4 separate regions of the Homo sapiens genome follow, and all the other regions are linked to region 1. Evidence: promoter capture Hi-C in 16 types of primary human blood cells and fetal thymus (Javierre and others, 2016). All regions are on one chromosome and are shown on one strand. Each heading gives the region's core, a stretch centred on a gene start or on the middle of the fragment in contact. The rest is flanking DNA. Distances are from core to core; before and after follow the strand shown. Region 1 holds the start of MARS2 (methionyl-tRNA synthetase 2, mitochondrial). Region 2 overlaps PLCL1 (phospholipase C like 1 (inactive)). Region 3 overlaps PLCL1 (phospholipase C like 1 (inactive)). Region 4 overlaps PLCL1 (phospholipase C like 1 (inactive)).

Evidence for each region. Contacts are between HindIII fragments. The CHiCAGO score rates a contact against its expected background, and 5 or more counts as called.
Region 2: a contact is called between a fragment that was not itself captured here and the fragment with the promoter of MARS2 in region 1, in 1 of 17 cell types (neutrophils). The highest score is 8.7, in neutrophils.
Region 3: a fragment that was not itself captured here is called in contact with the fragment with the promoter of MARS2 in region 1 in 3 of 17 cell types (monocytes, neutrophils and naive CD4 T cells); the score reaches 6.5 in monocytes.
Region 4: a fragment that was not itself captured here is called in contact with the fragment with the promoter of MARS2 in region 1 in 1 of 17 cell types (neutrophils); the score reaches 5.4 in neutrophils.

Annotation. Positions count from the first base shown.
Region 1 is chr2:197,703,333-197,707,359 of GRCh38, forward strand. It overlaps MARS2 (methionyl-tRNA synthetase 2, mitochondrial), which reads left to right and starts at 2,037. Exons shown (of 1, transcript NM_138395.4): 1 at 2,037-4,027. The coding sequence starts at 2,074. The coding sequence ends at 3,855. RefSeq lists a silencer at 1,851-2,090 and enhancers at 2,231-2,280, 2,321-2,440. The HindIII fragment of the contact is 9,491 bases long and covers 1-4,027 here.
Region 2 is chr2:198,136,418-198,140,444 of GRCh38, forward strand. All of the region lies in intron 5 of PLCL1 (phospholipase C like 1 (inactive)), which reads left to right. Among named protein-coding and RNA genes, the nearest start is that of LINC01923, 240 kb to the right of the region's middle. The HindIII fragment of the contact is 4,592 bases long and covers 1-4,027 here.
Region 3 is chr2:198,117,204-198,121,230 of GRCh38, forward strand. The region is part of intron 5 of PLCL1 (phospholipase C like 1 (inactive)); the gene reads left to right. Among named protein-coding and RNA genes, the nearest start is that of LINC01923, 260 kb to the right of the region's middle. The HindIII fragment of the contact is 2,213 bases long and covers 585-2,797 here.
Region 4 is chr2:198,061,804-198,065,830 of GRCh38, forward strand. All of the region lies in intron 1 of PLCL1 (phospholipase C like 1 (inactive)), which reads left to right. Among named protein-coding and RNA genes, the nearest start is that of PLCL1, 260 kb to the left of the region's middle. The HindIII fragment of the contact is 2,555 bases long and covers 551-3,105 here.

The DNA.
Region 1 (4,027 bases), core at 787-3,286:
CTTATTGATTTTTAAAATTCCTTATAGATTCTGGATATTAGACCTTTCTTGGATTCATAGTTTGAAAATATTTTCTCCCATTCTGTAGATTGTCTGCTTACTCTGTTGATAGTTTATTTTGTGGTGCGGAAACTCTTTAATTAGGTCCCATTTGTCAATTTTTGTTTTTGTTGCAATTGCTTTTGGCATCCTCATGATGAAATCTTTGTCAGGTCCTATGTCCAGAATGGTATTTCCCAGGTTACCTTCTAAGGTTTTTAGTTTTAGGTTTTACATTTAAGTCTTTAATCCATTTTGAGTTGAGTTTTGTATATGGTATAGGAAGGGGGTCCTGTTTCATCTGTATATGGCTAGCTAGTTATCCAAGCACCATTTATTGAATAGGGAGTCTTTTGCCCATTGCTTGTTTTTATCAACTTTGTTGAAGACCAGATGGTTGTAGGTCATTCTTAAACTGCTGGATTAAATAAGAGCACATCAACTGAGTATCCAAAGTTATTTTTTATATCTCTTATACAGAATTCGATTGGTCCACCTTTCATCATATCACTAGAGAAATCAGATCCAAGTTACCATATGTGTTCAGTCAAAGGTTATTATACAGCAGTCAAAATGAATGAATTACATGCAACATGTATTAAGAACATATGAATGCAGTTACATGCAACAACATGGATTAATATAGCAACAAAATGTTGAATAAAAAGGCAAGTTGAAGACTACATGTAGTATTATATCCTTTTTAGAATATTTAAATGCAAGCAAAATTAAACAATGTTACTTAGACATACTTTGTATGTGATCACACAAATGTGCAAGAACAAAATTCAGGACAATGACTACCTCAGGGAGGACAGTACGAGAAGAAAAGGAGCACACAGATCTAAATCACTGGTAATTTTCTAGTTCAGTGTTTCTCAAACTTTAATGTGCATCAGAATCACCTTAAAATCTAAATTACTGGGCCCTACCCTCAGAGTTTTCTGGTTCAGTATGTGGGGGATGGGGCCTAAGAATATACATATCGAACGAAGTTCCAGGTGCTGCCAGTTCTGCTGCTCTGGGGACCACACTCTGAAACCACTTGTAGTTCTTAGATTGGGTTGTAGGTTCATAGCTGCTCCATTTTATTATTAAATGTATATGCTACTTAAATTAAATTAAAAAAAAAAGATCAAAGATGAGAGTGTGTTATGAACTAGGGATTAACATTAATTCAATTCTGGGCTCCTGAGGTTTCCTCCCCTAAAAAAAATTCTAAGGTTCCATTACTAAAAGCAAACTTGAGAAACACTATTTTAAAAGAACTTCAAGACCATTAAAAAAATTAACTTTTTGAGAAATAAATTTGAAAATTATTCTTTATATGCACAGTGACAGCATATTGCACTCTACTTTCCTGGATCTCAATAAACTTTGGCAAGAACTTGGCAGATCACAAATCTACTTTTGTTGATTCAACAAAAACTGTTTAAAGACTTCTCTTCCATTCTCAGTTCTTATCCTTCTCTCAAAATGCTGTAGGTAATGATTTTTCATCTTTTTTCTCTCTCCCTCCCTTACAGATTGATTTAGGCTCTGAGATAAAATTTAGGTGACATTTTAGATATCGACAGGGCATGTGCAGAGCAATACTCTGTCTTGCAGTATGCCAGCCACGGACGGGGTTTAGACAAACGGCTGAATATAAAACTCTTGCCTACAAGCAGCTCAGCCTAGAGGGGGAAACAGATTCATAAATATAAAATTACAATCCAAAGCAGGAAACACAGTATGTTATACGAAGGCAAAGAGGTTCGTCTTCTTTCATAGCCTCTCCTAAACCCGGCAACTCTGAGCTGTTTTTCTGGCAAGCCGCCGTCCATTGGCGGCCTCTGGCGCCGCGGCTTTCGGCGTGCGGACGGCGCAGGCGCGGGCGGGGCGGGGCCGGGCGGGGAGGGCGGTGAGGGCCGGCGCTCGGGGCCGCGTTTCATTGGCTTTCCGGCCGGAAGCTGCGGCGCGACCCGGCTGCGCATGCGCCTCTCACACGTGCTGTCAGAACGCCGCCTCCTCCGCTTGCGGCCGGTCTGCACCATGCTGCGAACGTCCGTCCTCCGCCTGCTAGGACGCACGGGGGCTAGTAGGCTGTCTCTCCTGGAGGACTTCGGCCCACGCTACTACAGTTCGGGCTCCCTCAGTGCCGGCGATGATGCTTGTGATGTGCGCGCCTACTTCACTACACCCATTTTCTACGTGAACGCGGCGCCGCACATCGGGCACCTGTACTCGGCACTACTGGCGGACGCCCTATGCCGCCACCGTCGCCTCCGAGGTCCCAGCACGGCCGCCACGCGATTCTCCACTGGTACCGACGAGCACGGGCTGAAGATTCAGCAGGCAGCAGCTACCGCGGGCCTGGCCCCGACCGAGCTGTGCGACCGAGTCTCTGAGCAGTTCCAGCAGCTTTTCCAGGAGGCCGGTATCTCCTGCACAGATTTCATCCGCACCACGGAGGCCCGGCACCGGGTGGCTGTGCAGCACTTCTGGGGGGTGCTTAAGTCCCGCGGTCTGCTCTACAAGGGCGTCTATGAAGGTTGGTATTGCGCTTCCGACGAGTGCTTCCTGCCTGAGGCCAAGGTCACCCAGCAGCCGGGCCCATCGGGGGATTCGTTTCCTGTATCTCTCGAGAGCGGGCATCCAGTCTCCTGGACCAAGGAAGAAAACTACATTTTCAGGCTTTCCCAGTTCCGGAAGCCACTCCAGCGGTGGCTGCGGGGCAACCCTCAGGCGATCACCCCCGAACCATTTCATCACGTAGTTCTTCAGTGGCTGGACGAGGAGCTGCCCGACCTGTCCGTGTCTCGCAGAAGTAGCCACTTGCACTGGGGCATTCCGGTGCCCGGGGATGATTCGCAGACCATCTATGTATGGCTGGATGCCCTGGTCAACTACCTCACTGTAATTGGCTACCCAAATGCTGAGTTCAAATCTTGGTGGCCGGCCACCTCTCATATCATAGGTAAGGACATTCTCAAATTCCATGCCATCTATTGGCCTGCCTTCCTGTTAGGGGCCGGCATGAGCCCGCCACAGCGCATCTGTGTCCATTCCCACTGGACAGTCTGTGGCCAAAAGATGTCCAAGAGCTTGGGCAACGTGGTGGATCCTAGGACTTGCCTTAACCGCTATACCGTGGATGGCTTCCGCTACTTTCTCCTTCGGCAGGGCGTCCCCAACTGGGACTGTGACTACTATGATGAAAAGGTGGTTAAGTTGCTGAACTCCGAGCTGGCAGATGCCTTGGGAGGTCTCTTGAACCGATGCACTGCCAAAAGAATAAATCCTTCTGAGACCTACCCAGCCTTCTGCACTACCTGCTTCCCTAGTGAGCCAGGGTTGGTGGGGCCGTCAGTTCGTGCTCAGGCAGAGGATTATGCTCTGGTGAGCGCAGTGGCCACTTTGCCAAAGCAGGTAGCAGACCACTATGATAACTTTCGGATATATAAGGCTCTGGAGGCCGTGTCCAGCTGTGTCCGGCAAACTAATGGTTTTGTCCAAAGGCATGCACCATGGAAGCTGAACTGGGAGAGCCCAGTGGATGCTCCCTGGCTGGGTACTGTGCTTCATGTGGCCTTGGAATGTTTGCGAGTCTTTGGGACTTTGCTGCAGCCTGTCACCCCAAGCCTAGCTGACAAGCTGCTGTCTAGGCTGGGGGTCTCTGCCTCAGAGAGGAGTCTTGGAGAGCTCTATTTCTTGCCTCGATTCTATGGACATCCATGCCCTTTTGAAGGGAGGAGGCTGGGACCTGAAACTGGGCTTTTGTTTCCAAGACTAGACCAGTCCAGGACTTGGCTGGTGAAAGCCCACCGGACCTAGAAACTCAGTTCTTACCGGCTTGTGGTAAAAAAGCAAATGTGTTATCTTTTTATTTTTTATTTTCAGGAAAGTTATACTAGTATTTTCTTAAGTGTGGAATCAAATGAGCACATAAGCTGTGTCCCTGTGAAAAGAGGTTTGTAGCCTTTCAGGTGCCTGCTCCTATTCATTT
Region 2 (4,027 bases), core at 573-3,072, 430 kb after region 1:
GGTACAGTAAGAGTGGAGCTTATGCTGTAAATTCACTTATAAGAATGGCAATATGGTTACGATTCAAAGTCTCTAGTCTAGAGACTAGAGACTAGTCTAGATTGTTATTCTAAGAGAGAAATGAGGAATCCTTAGAATCAGATTTATTCCTTCATCACTCCTGGGGTTCCACTCGTCAGCTAGTGTGTTCTGCCATCTTGGGCAGCCAGCTTATGTGGAAGGCTTGTGGGGGCTCATGGGTGCTGCAAGGAGAAATCAGTACAGGGGCCCTGAGAATTGACTGATGAGGCCTCACATTAGTAGCATCCTTCAAAACGTTCAGTGGATGCCTGTCATGAATATGATTCATTAATAATCTTCTTTTTGGATCTGAGCCATCAGGGCTTATGACGATACCTTTGAAGTGAAAACCAGTCCTTTTTTCCAGCACTTATCCCACTCATGAATCCTCTATCATTGCTTTTGTATTTCAGTTTTCCGAAAATCTGGCTCAGATTAAAATTATTAAATGCTTCCAAACCCTGTACCCACACTGAAGACAAAAGTTAGAAATCAAAATATCAGCACAAGGATAGTATTTATGTCTGGGACATTTGTGAAGTTCTATCAAGAAATTCTTTTATAAACCAAAGAAGTCTTAAGCTAGTTTTTCTTTTCTATTTGATCAAATAGATCTATTTGATGACATGTGCACCATATCATGTAATGTACCTAAATTAAATAAAAAAACACAAAAAAACAAATAAACAATATAGAGATTAAGAAAAACAACTCTTGGCCTGGGAAGCCGGCATTATTCATTTCCTTCACACTTATTTCTCGTGTGAACCTGGGCAATGTATTTTTTTAGCTTTCCTGTGTCCATTTATTCACCTGAAGGTTATAAAAGGAGTCCTTCGAATGGCTCGAAAATTTGAAATAATTACTAAGAACGGTTATTTAGCAGATCTCAGTGATACTGTCACTAAATGACACTTTATTGTTTTCCACTTTCAGTGTTTCTTTCAGTATAAATGTCAATGAAACAAAATAAATCCTAAATAGAGAAAACGTAAGGAAAAATGGAATGTATTAGGCAATTTGGTGCTGTGCCATAAAGGCGGTAACCTTCCAGAACACTCTCCCATACCATGTATATCTGTATCTGTAAGACTGGAGGAGGATTCTTGCCTCTCCTCCAGGCAAGCATAAAAAAATCCTTGTACTGTGTTTCACTGATCATAAGATGCCAAGAAATAAATGAAGATGCCTGCTCATCTTGCAAATCATTGCTTTCTTGTTACTTTTTATGGGGAGGCTTGTCTAATCTCCTAGTCCTCACAGCAATACATTCTTTTCCCTCAAGTACTTAGCATAATTTAAGGTTAGATATAACTTTATTTTTGTGGTTATTTTATATATACCTGTATCCCACACTAGAAATAGGTTCCGTAGGGGCAGGGATGATGTCTGTGCTCACTTTTGTAACCCCCAGAGTCCAGCCTGGTGATTCTCAATGGGTGCAGTACTGCCCCCTAGGCTGTGTTCTGGGAAGTTGTAGAGGTGATTGGGAGGATTCTCCTGGCATTTAGTGGAAACAGACAGGAATATTTGATGTCATGCTCTGGGCAGGGCAGTACAACATGATGAAAAATGTCCTGTGTCCTGCAAGATTTCTGTTAAGTCCTGCCTGAGTAAACCCTCTGTATTAGTCAGTTGTCATACTGCTATAAAGAACTACGTGAAACTGGGTAATTTATAAAGAAAAGAGGTTTTTTTGTTTTGTTTTGTTTTGTTTTCTCAGTCCTTCACGCTGTACAGGAGGCATGGCTGGGGAGGCCTCAGTGAACTTACAGTCATGGCATAAGGCAAAAGGGAAGCAAGCACATCTTCACATGGTGGCAGGAAAGAGAAACAGCTAAGGGGAAGTGTTACACACTTTCAAACAACCAGATCTCCTGAGAACTTACTATCACAAGAACAACAAGGAGGAAATCTGCCCCTTTGATCCATTCACCTCCCACCAAATCCCCTCCTGCAACACCAGGGTTTACAATTCAACATGAGATTTGGGTGGGGACACAGAGCCAAACCATATCACCCTCTAAAATACAAATCAGAATACTTTAGTATATGATATTAATTAATTATTATTATTTTTTACAAGAAGTTGTTTGAAGGCCAGTACTTGAGTAAAAGGTAGTTATTGAGAGGTAAGTCTAAATGAAATAAAGACATTGTTTCCAAATTATTGAATAATTTACTCACCTTGGGTATTTTGTCCACTTGACCATATAATTGCTACACAGTAATATTGGAACAAATTGGGCAGTCAGATAATGGTTTTAACCTGATACCTTATTTTTTATTATTGATAATCCATGGTGGGCATCCGCCTGGGCCCCACAAAGTATCAGCTGGTATTATCAATCACAAGAACAATGACCTTTGGAGTACTTTTAAAGATTTGGCAGTTTTGCTGGGCGTGGTGGCTCACACCTGTAATCCCAGAACTTTGGGAGGCCAAGGCAGGTGGATCACCTGAGGTCAGGAGTTTGAGACCAGCCTGACTAACATGGAGAAACTCCATCTCTACTAAAAATACAAAATCAACTGGGTCTGGTGGCCTGTACCTGTAATCCCAGCTACTCAGGAGGCTGAGGCAGGAGAATCGCTTGAACCCAGGATGTGGAGGTTGCTGTGAGCCAAGATCGCACCATTGCACTCCAGCCTGGGCAACAAGAGCAAAACTCCGTCTCAAAATAAAAAAAAAAAGATTTGGCAGTTTTGATGTGGTGTATGGACATTATTTACTTCCTCATTTATGGGATTATCAGCTTTTTCTTTCCACAGTGAGGGTTTGTATTTGTCTTGGCATGTTATGCCGACCTTAATTGAGGTTGTTTCTTTCCTTCTTTTATTCTATGCAAATACAACTAGTCTATTGCCATTATTTGTTTTCATACTAGTGTCTGTCTCTACATTTGCATTATCATTTTCCATTAAATATGTATTTTTTGAGTGGAATGGCATCTGATCTTATTTCTCTTTCATATCTAATTGCATTCATATTAAGTACAGGCATCTGCCTACTTCAGGTTTCTGGTGTGCCTGCCTGACATTCACATATGGCAATACATGTTATTTTATTTTAAATGACCATTCCCTTTTTCTCCTTTATATTACAGCTAGGGTATTATATTTATTTTAATAATACATGAATAGGTTATATTATCTATGAATTTAAGTTTATGAAAATAAAGAAAGCCTTACAAAGTATTTGTTTCAAAGGGTTGGTTTTGATAGATTGAGAACCTCAGGCCAAAGTCTGGTATACAGTAATTGTTTAATAAATATTTGTTTGCTGGATAAGTGAATAAAATGAAAACTAAGGTGCAAGTCCTCATTAATAGCTAAGAGACCACCATTGTTTCCAAAGCACAGGGAAGAGATGGGTGTATCTCAGTTCACATATACATAGCTTTGAACAAGGTATAACAGGGACAATAAATGAGAATTTGAAACATTAAATTTCATACTTTTTTTTTTTTCCCCGAGATGGAGTCATGCTCTGTCACCCAGGCTGGAGGGCAGTGGTGCGATCTTGGCTCAATGCAGCCTCCACCTCCTGGGTTCAAGCAATTTTCCTGCCTCAGCCTCCTGAGTAGCTGGGATTACAGGTGCCTAACAACACACCCAGCTAATTTTTGTTCTTTTAGTAGAGACGGAGTTTCACCATGTTGGCCGCGCCTGGCCCATACTTCTTTTTTAAGCTCTGGTCAACAAGTGCATCTCAATGCAGTGGGTTTTATTGAGTGATACAGATGTTTTCCACCAGTAACAGGACCTATTGTCAGCATTGTTGCCACTGGATTATTAATGGTTTTTTAAATTATATTATTATTAGTGAGTAGTGTTTAAATAATGTTGAAAGACTTCACTTATATGTAGAATTCTATATATACAAGAACATAAAATTGTCTCCTTATATTAAAACTATTTTAAAAAACATGGCTAATACAAAGGTTTTCTGCTTAAAATGCAGTTA
Region 3 (4,027 bases), core at 441-2,940, 410 kb after region 1:
TAAGAGACATATTTTTCATATACATTTAAAATATACTGGATGCCCTGAAAATATGACTTGGGTTTCAGCAACAAATTCTGATTTCCTTGGGTCAGAAATATGGGTCTCTATCAGTCATTTTCTGTTTTTTTTTTCTTTTTTTTTTTCAGATTCAATTGGGCTTCACTTTTTTGTAAGCAAAGATATATAGAAAGGGAAGGTTGAATGTGTTAGAATTACTCATGTTCTCTGGTGGTACATTATTGTAACAGAAGTTTATTCCTCCAAACTGCTTGGATGGGCACAATTTGAACATATGCTGAAACAGTCCTATAGACACTTGAGAGTTCCATACAGTTTATTTGCTGGTGAAATCATGGATGGTTACACACCGCTTCCTCATTCCCTTACCTTCCAGATGGCTCTCCACACTTACCACACATGTTGCAGGAAACAGGTTCTTGTTTATCGTGGGTTTGCTATCAACCAAGAAACTGATATCTAAGACTGCTAAAAAACAAAGCTAGCGTATAAAGTCTTGTATAGGAAAAGTATGTTTTAGAGGTAACTATGTCCTAGTATTAAATCTGAGTAGGTGAGACTGAAGCTTCTTAACAATGTATATTGTGTATCCTCTGAGTCAGCCCATAGAGTCTTTACATGTACTCTGAAACTAGAGAGGGAAAAAGCCAGCAACTTCCTTCCTGTTCTCCTTTATCAATAGTACATTTTAGCCTGGGAGAGGAAGAATACCATCAAAAGGAACAATTATATGTATGCATAGTGTGTGCTTGTATATGTGTTATATCATAGGCTCGTTTCTTATATTAAACAACTCACTTATTAAACCCTGCTTATTGTAAGCTCTGTAATAATACATGTAGATATGATAATAACAATAATAGAGGAATGAAATTTTCCTTGGAGGCTTTGGTTAACTAAATGTATTCTCAGCTGTTCTTATGAAAAACATAAAAATGTGTAAGCAATATAATAATTACAAATGCCATCAAGATGGAAATTACAATTTTAAATTCTGAAAAATATAGTCTTTGCTACTGAATCACAGTTTTATCAACCATACTAAATCATTCGGTCATCCTCTACTTAATAACCACCACCTTAAAAATTGCTGGGTTCATCTCAGGAAGCATAATTTTGTTCTAGAGATTCTTCTCTGGTCAGAAAGAGAGAGAGGGAGAGGAGAGAGAGAAAGGAGCAAATAATAAAGTGACTACTACTGTCCTTCCTCTTTAAATAACAGCTCCTGGGAAGGTCAGATCCTTTGGCTGTTTTGTCAAAGATACTCAGGAAAAGTTTTCATAGAGATCTCTGAACTACAGGAGACTTGAAAATTAATTACATGAAACTTTATGAATTTTCATTGAAGTTAAACATCAGCACAACCAGTATTATTTTCCTGGAGCTTTTGATTAGACATTTCTATACCAGTTTGTCTGTCATTTCTTTTTTGCAGCATAAGGTTTAACAGTCTAATCCCTGAATTGGCCAGAGCTGCTGCATACTCCTATGTCAATTGTGCACTGCACAACCGTAGGGGGTGCCATTCCCACTGAATGCATGTGAGTAGTGTCCTCTGGATTTGTCATGTAGTTACCATGAAGTTGTCAGTCTAAGCATTTTTCTGTCTCTAACCTTTTGTTCTCCATGAAGTTTTGAGTGCCTTTAACTATTATTACATTAATTATAATTATTGTCTAATGTAGTGATTTTCCCTACTAAGGTTTACATTTAGGATAAATCTTCAGTCATTTCAAAAGGATTCATATACAGTAGTGTGTCTTCATGTGAAACTATTGTTATTTGTGTATTGAAGCACAGTAGAGAAGCCCAAGAATCCAGAGTATTACATACATCAGATGAGGAAAATGTCAATTGTAACTCAGCTAGATCTTAACTTTGATTGGTTTTGACAACCAAACATAGTTGATTCAGTTTGTAACTTGACAACAGAAACTGTAGGCATTTGGAAAATAATATCAAGTCCTCTTTTCAAATCTAATACATCCTTCTTGTGTAAGAAAATTTAATTAAATTCATTTAATCTTCTGAAAAAAATGCTCTAAATTCATTTAAGAGAGTTAAAAATAAATAAATCTTTTAAAAAGCCTAAGACTTGAGTGAGAGAAATGATTTGATGTTAGTCTGTTAGCTTCAAGAAAAAATGCCAAGTTCTTGACCTGGATAGAAGGTCCTCTGTGATGGGGGCTTTGCTTACCTCCGTGTCTTCACATTTTATATTCTCCAGGCCCTCAGTTCTGTTTCTTGGAAATATCAGGCAGTTTTGGGATTCCATGCCTTCGCACTGCTGTTCCTGCCAACTGTGATGTTCTTTCCCTCCTCAGTCACCCACCAGCTCCTCTTCATCACTCACATCCAGCACTAGTGTTATCCATTGCCTTTCCAGGGAAGCCTTCCCTGCTCTTGTCCCTCCATACCCCTCACCCTCCAATTCTCATCAAAACCAAATTATCTCCTGTATAGTGCCAGATCTGTAGCTTATACACAATTTTATTCCCATGCTCACCACCCTGACTCACTAAATGTTAATGATGTGTCCCTATGTCTTTTTCTCATACAAAATCCTGCTCCTTCAGGGTGGGGACTGTGTTTTAGTACAGTGCTGAGATTTAGGAGAAAGCAGAGGATTACAGAAGCTCTGCAAGTTGTTCAAGATGATGCGACTAACTAGTAAGCCGTGGGGATGGATGCACACCTTGATCTATGTGACACCAAAACCTGTCCTTAATATCCACAGTCATGATGTCCAAGGTCACTGTAGATGCCTGTGTACCAAAGCTTGTTCTTCATATTGGGCGTTGTGTCCAACGTCACCATTGGATGCCTATGTGTCATTTGGGAAGATGGGCGTTTCTGCAGTTCTTGGCAGCTCCGTTTTCTCATGGGGTTGAAATTTTGTCCTGTTTTTCTTACTTCAACCTCTGGGGAGTTTCATTTTTCCTGGTCTACTCTTAAAAAAAATAATTTTTGTGGGTACATAGGTGTATATATTTGTGGGGTACATAAGATGTTTTGGTACAGACATGCAATGCATAATAATCACATCATGGAAAATTGGTTATCCATCCCCTCAAGGATCTATCCTTTGTGTTTTAAATAAACCAATTATACTCTTTTAGTTATTTTTAAATATACAATTAAATTATTATTGACTATAGTCACTCTGTTGTGCTATCAAATGCTTGGTCTTATTCATTCTAACTTCTTTTTGTACCCATTAACCATCCTCATCTCCCCTCATTCCCCACTACCCTTCCCAGCCTCTAGTAACCATCCTTCTACTCTCTATGTCCATGAGTTCAATTATTTTAATTTTTAGCTCCCACAAATAACTTAGAACATGTAAAGTTTGTTTTTCTGTGCCTGGCTTATTTAAGTTAACACAATGACCTCCAGTTCCATCCATGTTGTTGCAAATGACAGGATCTCAATCTTTTTTATGGCTGAATAGTACTCCATATGTACTATCACATTTTCTTTATCCATTCATCTGCTGATGGACACTTAGGTTGCTTCCAAATCTTGGCTATTATGAATAGTGCTGCAATAAACCTGAGAGTGCAGGTAACTCTTTGATATACTGATTTCCTTTCTTTTGAATATATACCCAGAAGTGGGATTGCTGGATTGTATGGTAGCTCTATTTTCAGTTTTTTGAGGAAGCTCCAAATTGTTCTCCATAGTGGCTGTACTAATTTACATTCCTGCCAACAGTGTATGAGGGTTCCCTTTTCTCCATATCTTCGCCAGCATTTTTTATTGCCTGTCTTTTGGATATAAGTCATTTTAACTGGGGTGAGATGATATCTCATTGTAGTTTTGTTTTGCATTTCTCTGATGATCAGTGTTGTTGAATACCTTTCCATATGCCTGTTTGCCATTTGTCTTCTTTTGAGAAATGTCTTTTCAGATCTTTTGCCCAGTTTTTAATCAGATTATTAGAGTTTTTCCTACAGAATTGTTTGAGCTCCTTATGTATTCCGATTATTAATCCCTTGTCAGATAG
Region 4 (4,027 bases), core at 578-3,077, 360 kb after region 1:
TCAGCCAGGATGGTCTCGAACTCCTGACCTCATGATCTGCCTGCCTCAGCCTCCCAAAGTGCTGGGATTACAGGTGTGAGCCACTGAGCCTGGCTGCAAATGTATTATAAGGGTCAATAGGTACGTTGATTCTTACTTTTTCCTCCATACACATTACACAATACTGAGAAGAAATGTATTCCATCCTGTCTAGCACGGCAGTGGTTGGACTTTAATAAATGACGGCTCCCTTCCTCTTCATCTGAGTACATTGAACTGCTACAATTCATTAGTCAGAAATTTGAATTGTTTAGGACATGGTAAGATTCTGGAGCCTAATTCCAGGAAATAAAGTGAAATTCAAAGGAAGCCCCAGACTGCTCCAAATCTGCCCTTCAAATTATTTGTCTCATTTACACGTTATTTTTTTGAAATGGCAAAGATTATCCTTTCTGATAAATTTTGTGCATTAAAAGACAAGTTTTATCTATTCTAGGGGAGCTCCAAATTTATACAAGACAATTGTGATAAATTTTTTCTTAAAGGAAGAAATCCTTTATTATGCAAATAAAGCTTCTTTATTAACTTCTGTATATTTGAATGGAGGTTGGACTTTTCTCAGTTACCTACAATTTATACGTAACTCAATTATATATACTTCTCTAGAACTGCTTATGTAAAATAATATTTCTTAACACATTTAAAGTGGTGACTCCCTATTATATTGCAATACCCTTCCTCTTTTTTTCTGAACTAACAATGGAATTAAAATTCAAGTGCTGAAAAAACACGGTTTCAGTATCCTTATATTCTTAACATGGAGCCATCATATAATTAAATGCAATGTCTAGTTTTTTTCATAAGTGTATGAAGTTGAATATTCTGATTTGGTGCAGTGTTTTCAAATTTTCCTGACCATAAGAATCACTTGGGGGTGAGCCTAGGGTATCATTTGTTAAAAAAAATAAATTCCTGGCCTCCCCCCTTTAACCTACTGAATCAGATGTGTAGAACCTGGGAATATACTAAGTCAATGAGCTATCTCAGGTGATTCTTATAATCAGGTAAGTTTGGGACCAATGATGTAATGCAGTAAAACTTAAGGGTGTATCAGAATCACCCTTGTCTTATTAAAACCCAAAATTTCTGAACCCCACCCCCAGATCCAGTGGGTGTAGAGTCTGAAAGTCTGCAATTTTTAACAAGGTCCTTGGTGATGCTGTTGCTGGCAGTCCAAAGATCACACTGTGGGGACCACTGATGTAGTGGAAAGAATGTAGTCTTGAGATGAGACACATCTGGGTTCCAGTCTCATTTAATAGCTGGAAATTTTTTAGTATAGTTACTTAATACTATACTAAGTACTTAATACTATACTTTACTGAGTTTTTTCCTCTTTATTTTCAATTTTTTAAAATATCCTTAAATAAATTTATACACTCATACATATATATTATGCTTGGGTTTAAATGCTACCTTGAATAAATATGGAGCACAGATGGAAACCGAGAAGAAGGAGGCAGAAATGAGAGCAAGGAGGAGGCTGATAAGTAGGTTCAAGGGAGAGTGAGTGGTCTGCACAGTAATAACTGTGTCCTAGAATAACCAGAACCCAGCAAAACAACATAATCAGAAGCAAACTCAAAGTGAATGTATTAAAAGTCAAGCTAACTGTTTACTTTGCAAGGAGAAGAGAAAGGTCACTTGGCTGTACAAGTATGATAGCATTGATTAATTTGAATGCTTTGTCTGAATCATTACTGTTGAGATTCTGAAAGTTCAGATACTGAAAAGAGGAAAATAATGTTGACATGGAGAAACCAATCATGTGAGAGCTGTTTTTCATGTCAGTGAGGATAAAATGATTGCTACCTGCTCTTTTTACACACATGACTAATGACATATTTGTAAACTTAGTTTTCTAAGAAAGAAACATAGCCATCATATTTAGGGTTCATACCATTATTTAAATTTGTATACTGTGTTCCATCAGCTTTTCATGGGAAGTATTTTTATCCTCTCTGATGATTTGAAATAGAAAAGCCAATTTGGGTGTAAAATCCAATGTTCAGGCAGAAGCCTTATGTGGAGATAGTGTTCCCACAGAATTGAACTCCTGGAGTACTGGTTAAGAGCAAGTACTCCAGGAGTCAGATATCTGGGTTCCAATCTTGCTTTCACCTCTTAGGGCCCGTTCTGTTGCCATAGGAATGTTCAATAAGCTAGTAATCATTATAGTACATAGCTATGGGATTTCTACAAACTTTTATTCAACAAGTATTTATTGACTGCTTGAGAGGTGCCAGGCATGGTGGCAGGTACTGGGGATATCCACTCTCAGGGAGCTCTGGGAGACAGGCAAGAAACCTGTGAATAAGAAAGTTCATATAATAATAGTAGGTGTTAAGGATGGAGCAATTAACAAAACTAAAACATAAGTCCCTAGTCCTCCAAGTTCCATTATAGTGCCTTATATCCTAGTTTGTTTACCTTCCATAAGCTCATCAAAAGTCAAATGTGACTTAGATTTACTGACTAGGTTACTATTTTATTCATCAGATTGAGCTCCTTAATTCGGGAATTTAACAGAGGTTAGTTTGCAACTTAAAAAAATCTTCATTTCTATCCTGTCTTAGGCATTAATAGATTTTGTCCATATTACCAGTGCAAATAACAGTGAACTTTATGTTTTTATTCTCTATTTGATATGCTTGTAATTTAAGGCTTAGCCACAATTAAAATGTTCACTTTATAATCTATTAGAAATTCTATATAATTTAATAATTTTCATTTTGTTGAGGTCAAATTTAACTACAAAATCTAGGAAGCTATTGATTCCCACTAACCGCACCATTGTTATAGTCTTAGTATGTTTGAAAATTTAAGTAAAATTTGTTTCCAGGGCCAAAAGGAGAGTACTATTTTAGTTTTGTGGAACTTTGCCAAAATTGTATTAATTATTAACTGTGATTCATTTATGACTGTACTTCTTCTATAGGATTTTAACTAATTTAAAGCAAAGACTGAATGAAAGTCTTTATGTTTTGCAGACAAGAGAGCACCCATTTATCCTCAGCAAATGAATTGTTGGAGCAAATAATTTCAGTGGACCGTTTGGTATAGGGAAGCTTATGGAGACAGAAGCTTGTGGAGACAGAAAATTCAAGGGATTAGGATTTTTGAAATACAGAATAAGACTGAGGGGCAGCTAAGATTTATGTAGTCTTCAAGAACATAGACTATGCAAATACACAAACCTACATTCTGTAGACTGCATTGTAGGGAATAATGGACACACTCAACATCCTCTAAGATTAGGATAGAGAGAAAAGCTCCACTCTATTTGAAGGAAGGGAAATTTTTAGCAAATCAGAATAATATTAATCTAAGTTTTTCATTTTCTTTGGTGGTAGTCCTTTCTGGATTGGTTTAGTTGCCACCTTGCCAGAATACTTTAGGAAACTTCTTTAAAAAAACTTCTTTAGTCCAAGGGGTACTCTCAATCCAGGATGAGTAAGGCTTTCAACTTTCCAGACCAAATAAATAAGTCAGAAAGCTTTTCAAGTCTAAATAACTTAATTCTTCTTACAGAATTCTCTCCACCAATTGCTTGATAAATGTCAATTCAATGAAATGACATGCACATTCAGAATCATGGTAAATTTTTGTTTTCCATATCCTTCAGAATCATTTTTTAAACTTTCCCAAATCTTTGGCTTATCAATGATGCATTATTCTGTCACCCTATTAATGTATGTTTCCTTTGTCATTCATAAAACGGTTGTATTGTTTGGCCTTATGGAAGGATGTTGATTAAGTGCCTGTGAATGTTTGCTTTATTGGCATTGAGAAAGAAGAGAAAATGATTTGTTTTGCCAACAATGAATTATTGCATCTGTTTGTGGCTGTTAAATAATTTAATAGAACTTAAAGGGCCTATTTTCCCTTGATTAAACTACAGGAAAATATCAGTCTCTGCCTCACCTTGGATACAAAGTTAGATGTAAAACATGTTTTTAATTTGCCTTTTGCCAGTTTAGGTGTTGAT